Linked DNA regions of Homo sapiens: region 2 is linked to region 1. The links are contacts of gene promoters, found by promoter capture Hi-C in human tissues and cell types (Jung and others, 2019). All regions are on one chromosome and are shown on one strand. Each heading gives the region's core, a stretch centred on a gene start or on the middle of the fragment in contact. The rest is flanking DNA. Distances are from core to core; before and after follow the strand shown.

Region 1 (3,817 bases), core at 620-3,119:
ACAAACCTTAGCGTCTGTTCTCATATGTGTGGTACTTCATGTTTCTGTTCCTTGCAGCTAGCACAGTACTGCGCATGTAACCAGTGTCAAAAATGTGTCAAGGAGAATACATTGACCGAGTGGAATGTGAATTGTAAACAAAAAAGGAAAAATAGGAACCTGGTCTCTGGGCAGATTCTGCCTGAAGACGTTAAAAAGCCCTGTATTTATTTCGTCAAGTTGCCATGGCAGCAACTGATGCTCCAGCCAGCTCCAGGGTTAGCAGGGATCAGTTTATCTTGTTAACCATGGAAATTCCGGAGGTTCAGTGGGATCCAGAGGGGAAGGCAGACACAGTTCTTCTCCAGTCTAGAAATAAATCCTGGAAAGCCTCCTTAGTTTTCATGTAGCTAAAACCATCATTATCTAAAATGATGTTTACATGACAATTTTTATAAGTATGGATTTAGGCACAGGAGATGTAAAATCAGGCAAAAAAAAAAGGGCCAGCGATACTCAGAAGGGCAATTAGCATCATGGAAAACTTAAGGGGCTGCCGGAGAGCCAGGATCTAGACCCCCAGAACTAACTTGGGGCTTCCGCATCTTTTAAGCCTCCATTTGCAGACTCGCTGTCCACACACAGTCTGGATTTTGCTGTCACTTTTTAAACAGGCTTCCACTACAGGTGAAGCTTGGGGAAAAAGCAAGTGTCCCCTCAAACTTCGTTCCCTGTAAAAGAAAACAGCAGCAGATGGGGTCCCTGCCACACACCCTGGAGACAGAAGGGAGCCTGGGTGGCCTCCCGACCTCTCTGCTCCCACCATAACCAACCAACACAACCAGAGAAGGTGCAAGATGTGGCTTTGGTAGATTGGGACTTACTCTCCCAGGCCAAACGCAGCCCTTCCCTGGAGCCAGCTCTGGGTCTTCTCTAGGGTCACAGACTGATGGAGAAATCCGGGATTTGTCTTTGTTCTGGCTCAAGAGAGTTAAGGCACAGAAATAGAATCATCACCCAAGCTCAGAACTCCAGGGCATTCTGCCGGAGGAAAATTCAAGCTGTGAGAGATTTGTTTTTCCGGCCACTGGGAGCCTGTTTGTGTCGGGGAGGGGGGTGGGGGGGTTCTGGCCGCGCTGGGCACTGGTGGCTCCATCAGACTCTACACAAAGCAAAACAGGACAAACGACCGCGGCGCGTCGACGCTTGGCGGGTCACGGTCACAAAGCGGGTCTCAGAGCCTTCCTCAGGCGGCGGCAAAGGGGGCGCCCGAGGTCACCGGCAAGAGACAGATTACTGGCGCCTCGGGAAAACAGAGTGGGGAAGGGCGAGACTGTGTGCCCATCCACGTTCGCGCGGGTCTGAGCTGGCCCGGCCTTGGAGGGCTCCGGGACCCCAGAAGGGGGACAGCAGTGGGGGATGGGCAGAAGGGGGCGACTCGGGCTGCCCAGGCTCCTCGCAGCCTTCCTGCCAACGAGAGGGGCCCGGGCGGGAACAGCTCGAGCCGCGGGGGTGCGGGGCGCGCAGCCCGCCCCACCCCGGGAGAGCCGCGATCGCCGCCCCCGACGCGTGCACCAAGTGGGGGTGTCCGGCTCGGGACAAAGGACCGGGACGCGGATCGCGGGCGGGCGCCACTGCCCAGCCCCAGCGTGGAGGGCGAGACCGTGGCCCCGAACCTCCCCAAACTTGGCGGCCCGGGGCGCGTGGGGGGGACGCCCCGTTACCTGCGCGGCCATAAAGGAGAGATCCATGGTGTCGCTGCAGCCAGCGCTCGAGTCCTCGCTGCTGCCGCTGCCGCTGCGGGTCAGCCGCCTGCACAGTTGGCGGGGATCGGGCTGAGCAGCGAGCGTCCGGAGACCGCACGGCGCACTCGGCTGTCTCTGGGCTTCTGGCTCCAGATCTCTACTAGGCGGAGGGCCCCGAGCGCGGGGGCGGGCGGGGCGGGGTGGGGCGGGGCTCGGCGGACGGGGCGCCCCTCCACGTGACCACTCCCCGCCCCACCCCCGGGGCGGGGTCCGTCAGAAACCCCAAGCGCTCGCAATCGCCTCCCTTCGTGGGCGGGATGGGGAAACTGAGGCCCGAGGCCGCCCCGCTGGTTGGTGCAAGAACCAGCCTGCAACCCAAGTCCTGAGCTGTTGGCGCCCCGCCCCGTGCAGTTGAACCCAACCCACCCGGGGCTGTGGGCAGCGCTCTCTTGGGGCTGACACGTTATCCCGAGCCTGAGGACCAAGATCGGAGTGACCTGGCTTTCCACGCCAACGCTCCTCCCAGAGTCCGGTGTACTCCCGGCTCGGCATCTGGGCAGAACGAGGTTTAATCCTAGCCCTGCTTTGTTGTGCAGCTTGAGCAAGATAGTGTCTTTGAGCCTAGATTTCCTCATCTGTGAAAAGAGAATACAGAACCGAATAATTAAATGAGATAGGGAATATAGCACGCGGTGTCCTCAATAAATGAGAGCCCTAACATGGCTAATCATCCAATAGAGACGAGGCTGTGAGTGGTGTCTTCGAGGACCGCACGGTGCTCAGGTTGCACAGCGGGTACTCCATGGCTCTCAGCTCAAACCAGTATCGAAAATCATGCAGGTGCCACAGTTCAAGTAAGGGGAACAGAAGAGACGCCCACAGGGGCCCATTGCTCTGTATGTGTGTGTGTGTGTGTGTGTGTGTGTGGTGGACACCACAGACTTGGTGACACGTGGAGGCTTTGCCCTCCGGGGGCTCACTGGGAGGGAACCAGCTGTACTCTAAGGAGTCTCAGTGAGTACGACTGGTCCCTTTGGGTGATGTCTCTTCCAGGTACTTTACACTCATGGTCATCACGAGCCTCTGTGAGGGGCAGCCTGGGACTCCCAGACTTTGTCACAGGCAAGGAAGCTGTGGCACAGGGAGATGGAGGGGTTTGTTCAAGGTCCCCCGGCAGCTGGGGGCCCAGTAGGGACTGTGGCTATGGGAATGGGACCAGAACCTCACTGACCTACAGAAGGCTTTCAGTGTTATCTTTCCTGTAACTTTCCTTTCTTTTCTTTTCCTTCCCTTCCTTTCTCCCTCCTTTTCTTCCTCCTCTTCCTTCTCTCCTTCTCTCCCCTTCCCCCCACTTTTTTCTTTCTTTTCTCTTTTCACTTTTCCTGTCATGCTTGCCTCCTCCCTTCCTCCTCTGGTCTCTAAACCCTCCAGTTCCCTGGCCCTCCCTTCCCTCCCTGTTTTTAGCCAGTACTGCACTCACCACACCCATCATTCCTGCCACCTCCCAGCCTAGTCCACACGGGGCCTGCCCAAACAGTCCATGCCAAGAGCCGCCCACCTCCTCCCACCCTTCCTGTGGCCAATAGCAAAGCAGCCTGCCCAGAACTGCCCAGGGCTCCCCGTCTGCTGTAAGAAATATTATGTACACGGCATACTTCACAATAAAAGGGCGTATAGGTTGTGTGTGTGCAATTTGAAAAATAATATAGCCTTGCATAGGTTAAAAAGTGGAACAATAAAAAACAGTCGTGAAGTCCTACTGTGTATCTCTCCAAAGGCATCTCCTACCTGCCCCCTTTCCAGGGTCACCTCCATCCTATTTAGTATTCACTCTTGTCAATTCTCTTGCTTTTCTTTATAGTTTTACCTTTATAGATTACCTGCTTTAACCCTTTGTAGAAAAATTAAATTGCTCTAAATTTGCTCTTCCATGTCTTCTTTGTTGTTTTCTCAGCATTATTTGTGTAGTTGACGTATATTGTTTTTCAGTGCTACACAATATTCCATTTGTATGTCCTTATCACAGTTTTTATTGATGCACTAGCCCTTTGATGGATACTTTGGTCATCTCCAGGTTTTCTGATAACGCCAAA
Region 2 (3,821 bases), core at 1,322-3,821, 500 kb after region 1:
TATACCCTAAAGTAATGAAAACGCCATTCAGGCCAGGTGCGGTGGCTCACACCTGTAATCCCAGCACTTTGGGAGGCCAAGGCTGGTGCATCACCTGAGGTCAGGAGTTCAAGACCAGCCTGGCCAACATGGTGAAACCCTGTCCCTACTAAAAATAAAAAAAATTAGCCAGGCATGGTGCCAGGTGCCTGCAATCCCAGCTCCTTGGGAGGCTGAGGCAGGAGAATCGCTTGAACCCGGGAGGCAGGGGTGGCAGTGAGCCGAGATTGCCCCCTGCACTTCAGCCTAGGCAGCAGAGTAACACTCTCTCAAAAAAAAAAAAATATATATATATATACCATTTATTGAGTTAAGGATTACTGAGTTTCATACTCTTTAAGCGTTTTACAAAAATAATCTTATTTAATCTTTACAAAAATCTGACAAGGCAGGTACAATTATCCCTACTTTACATAAGATGAAGAAACTAAGGCTCAGAAGGGTTAAGTAACTTACCGAAACTCACAGTGACAGCGCAGTGAAACCAGGATTTATATCCAGGCTTCCAGGAGTACAAAAGCCCAGACTCTTAACCACATGCTACCTGAGTCCCTCACCAGAGGTGGCCTCTACCCTCTAGCTGCCATCTCACTCCTGCCCAGGAGCTACAAGTGCACTGCACACATATCTGCAATATATGGGACTGTTTTATGCCTTTAACATTTACATATACAAATGGTATTATGCCATAATTACGTGTTTGCAACTTGCTTTTTGACTAAATATTGTATTTTTGAGATTCAGCCATGTTAAATACATCTAGATCTAGTTCATTTTAACTACAGTTTAGCTTTCCATCATGTGACTAAAGTTTATTTATCTGGTCTGCTGCTAATAGACCAAGATCCCTTCCTGTCAGTTTTTCATTATTGCAAGCCATGCTGCAATGAACGCGCCAACACAGGTATCCTAACACAGAGGTCCCCAACCTTTTTGGCACCAGGGACTGGTTTTGTGGAAGACAATTTTTCCACGGACCAGGGAAGGGTGGGGATAGCTTCGGGATGAAACGGTTCCACCTCACATCATCAGGCATTAGTTACATTCTCGTAAGGAACGCACAACCTAGATTCCTCACATGTGCAGTTCACAATAGAGTTTGTGCTCCTATGAGAACCTAATGTCGTCACTGATGTGGCAGGAGGCGGAGCTCAGGCGGTAAAGCTCACTTACCCACCGCTTACCTCCTGCTGTAAGTCCTCGATCCCTGGCCTGGGGGTTGGGGACCCATGTCCTAACACACACATGCAGAAGTCAGTCTCTAGGCCAGGGACAGATAAACTATGGTCTTCAGGCCAAATCCAGTCTACTTCGTAATTAAAGCTGTATTTTCATAAATAAAGTTTTATTGAAACTCAGCCTGCTCATTCATCTACATATTGCCCATGACTGACTTCAGGCTATATAACAGCAGAGTTGAATAGATGCAACAAAAACCACACAGCCCACAAAGCCTGACGTACTTAGTCTCTGGCCCTTTACTAGGGTAAGTTTGCAGATCCCCCTCTCTAGAATATATACCTAGGAGTCACGCAGCTGGGTCTTAGGCTCTGTTCACCCATAGCTTGACTGGGTACTGATAGTTACTCCTCCAAAGTGTTGGTACCATTTTATACTCCCATCTGCAGCATACATGTGCACCACACAAGCACATACACACAACTTGTTATCCAACTTTTAAGGTTCACCAGCATGACATGTTTCACTACTGTCTTCAATTCCCTGATACTGAAAAGGTGGAGCGTATTTTCAAATGCTTAATAAACATTCAACAACAGGATATGGTTATTTATTCAACAAATCATTTGAGTCCCTATTCTGTCACTGTTCCAGATGCAAGGACTACAATGATGATCTAAATCGGCAGCAAATGTTTATAATGCCTTTAAGGCCGCAGAGTTTGCAATATAATGATAAATAAAAGCAGTATTTATTTATTTATTAAAATGCTCACTGAAAGCTTGCTTTGCATAAGCGGTACACACAGCACCACAGGCAGTGGCATAAGACATATTCCCTCGTCTCTGGAGGGCAAAATACTATGTATAGACAAGCATGGTCTCAATGTGTTAAAAAAAAAAAAACTGTTAGGAACTAGATCTAAATGTTAATACAATAGTTTCCATAAATTACAGGTGATTTTCCTTCTTTAAACTTTTCAGTGTTTTCTACATTGCTTCCATGAGCATAAGTTCCTTTATTAAGACCAGGATTAGGAAATGATGATGTCAGTCTACTGGGACCTGATCCCTTTGTGACTGTCTTCTGTGTGCACTCCAGATAAAAAGAGAAGGACAAGAAGGTCTTGAGAAGGCCAGAACACAATGCTGCCTCATAGTCACCTTTGTTCCTTGGGTCACAGTCTCAAGATGTGTCTGTATCACACTCCTGGGAACCCAGTACTCAAAACTAGGAAAGAATGTTTTCCTCCGGTTTAGGCACTTTGTAAAGTTCAGGTCTCCTTGGCATAAGAACCAACAAAAGGCCAGTTTTGCAAGAGCTCCGTTCCTATTACTAGAAATGACCTTGGATCTGGTGTACAAACATAGTTTCGGCTGGCAAAAGCAAGCATCGGACAGCCCGTTAGTTGCTCTTGGTAAATAAAGCTGTATAGGGAAGAGGGGAAGAGTCTTAATAACCTGGCTGAACTAATCCCCATTTGGGGAACGTGCTTTTACCACCCTGCCCAGTCCAAATGTTAATACTTACTAATCTTTACTTTTCTAATCAATAAAAGAGGTATGTTATATTCAATATATATGCAACGCGTTTATTAACCAAAATAGCAATCTGATGAAACTCAGTGGTCAAGGAATGTAAGGGTTAAATTCCTGTCGCTGCTGTTTGAAAACTTAAGAAAGTAAGCTCAGAAACCAGACACCAGACGTGGATAAAAGACAGAAAAATAAAATGTTATCAGTACATATTCGTATTTTTGCTCCTATTTTCCGTTTACTAGCTATATTCCAGCATATCTCATTTCCAGTTATATTAAACAAGAGAAAATAAATTCACAAACCAAAGACCCTCGAAACATGATACTAAGCGAGATAACAACACCACTTTTTTACTAGTGCCATATTGGCAATTTGCAGGGGACTCCCTGCAAGGTCTCTGTCAAAAGACTGCAAAATAGTTACTCCTCTTTTAAGCAGAGAAGCTGTCTTCGAAGGAAGACTGCAGGTCCCTTGCCTTGCACATGATAAAACTGAGCCCAGTAACTGGTGGCATACTAGTTGACAAGGAAGACAAAAGGGTCATGAGAATAACACATGGTAATATTACATATACGTGGTAATTTGAACCTGCCCTCTCGACTCCTCAACTCAACATGCTTTCTAGGTCCCACCCACCACCACTATCACCTACAGCAAATGGAGGATCAGTTATCCCCAAGAGTCTTTAAGGACTAGATAATCTGGGAAAAAATACATTTGAAAACCATCAAGTGCTAATACGAAGCCAGCTACCATTTACCGGGTGCTTTCTGTGCCAGGTAAAATAATACACACTTTCTATAATTTTTACTTTGGCTTCCTAACACAAACTTTGCCAAATTGTCTCATTATCCTCAAATGCAGGTGAGTGACTTAAGTTTTACACCTGATTAGCCACAGAAGAGGATGTCAACCCAAAGCTTTTCCAAACACCAGCCTGTCTCATCATTGTAAGCAATGACTATGATTAGTAATTTCGAATTTAGAGTAACAGAGAACCTGGCACCTATTTTTAGCACACAACTGGCACCTCTTTTTAGCTAGGGACATGCAGGGACTCAGTCA

Evidence for each region. Contacts are between HindIII fragments. The study calls those that stand out against the background at their distance.
Region 2: a fragment that was not itself captured here is called in contact with the fragment with the promoter of C14orf132 in region 1 in 1 of the 25 tissues and cell types used here (dorsolateral prefrontal cortex).

The regions. Positions count from the first base shown.
Region 1 is chr14:96,037,414-96,041,230 of GRCh38, reverse strand. It overlaps C14orf132 (chromosome 14 open reading frame 132), which reads right to left and starts at 1,869. Exons shown (of 2, transcript NM_001252507.3): 1 at 1,704-1,869. The coding sequence starts at 1,730. RefSeq lists silencers at 1,760-1,809, 1,830-2,019. The HindIII fragment of the contact is 15,410 bases long and covers 10-3,817 here.
Region 2 is chr14:95,536,400-95,540,220 of GRCh38, reverse strand. The region is part of intron 1 of GLRX5 (glutaredoxin 5); the gene reads right to left. Among named protein-coding and RNA genes, the nearest start is that of GLRX5, 3.3 kb to the right of the region's middle. The HindIII fragment of the contact is 4,840 bases long and covers 152-3,821 here.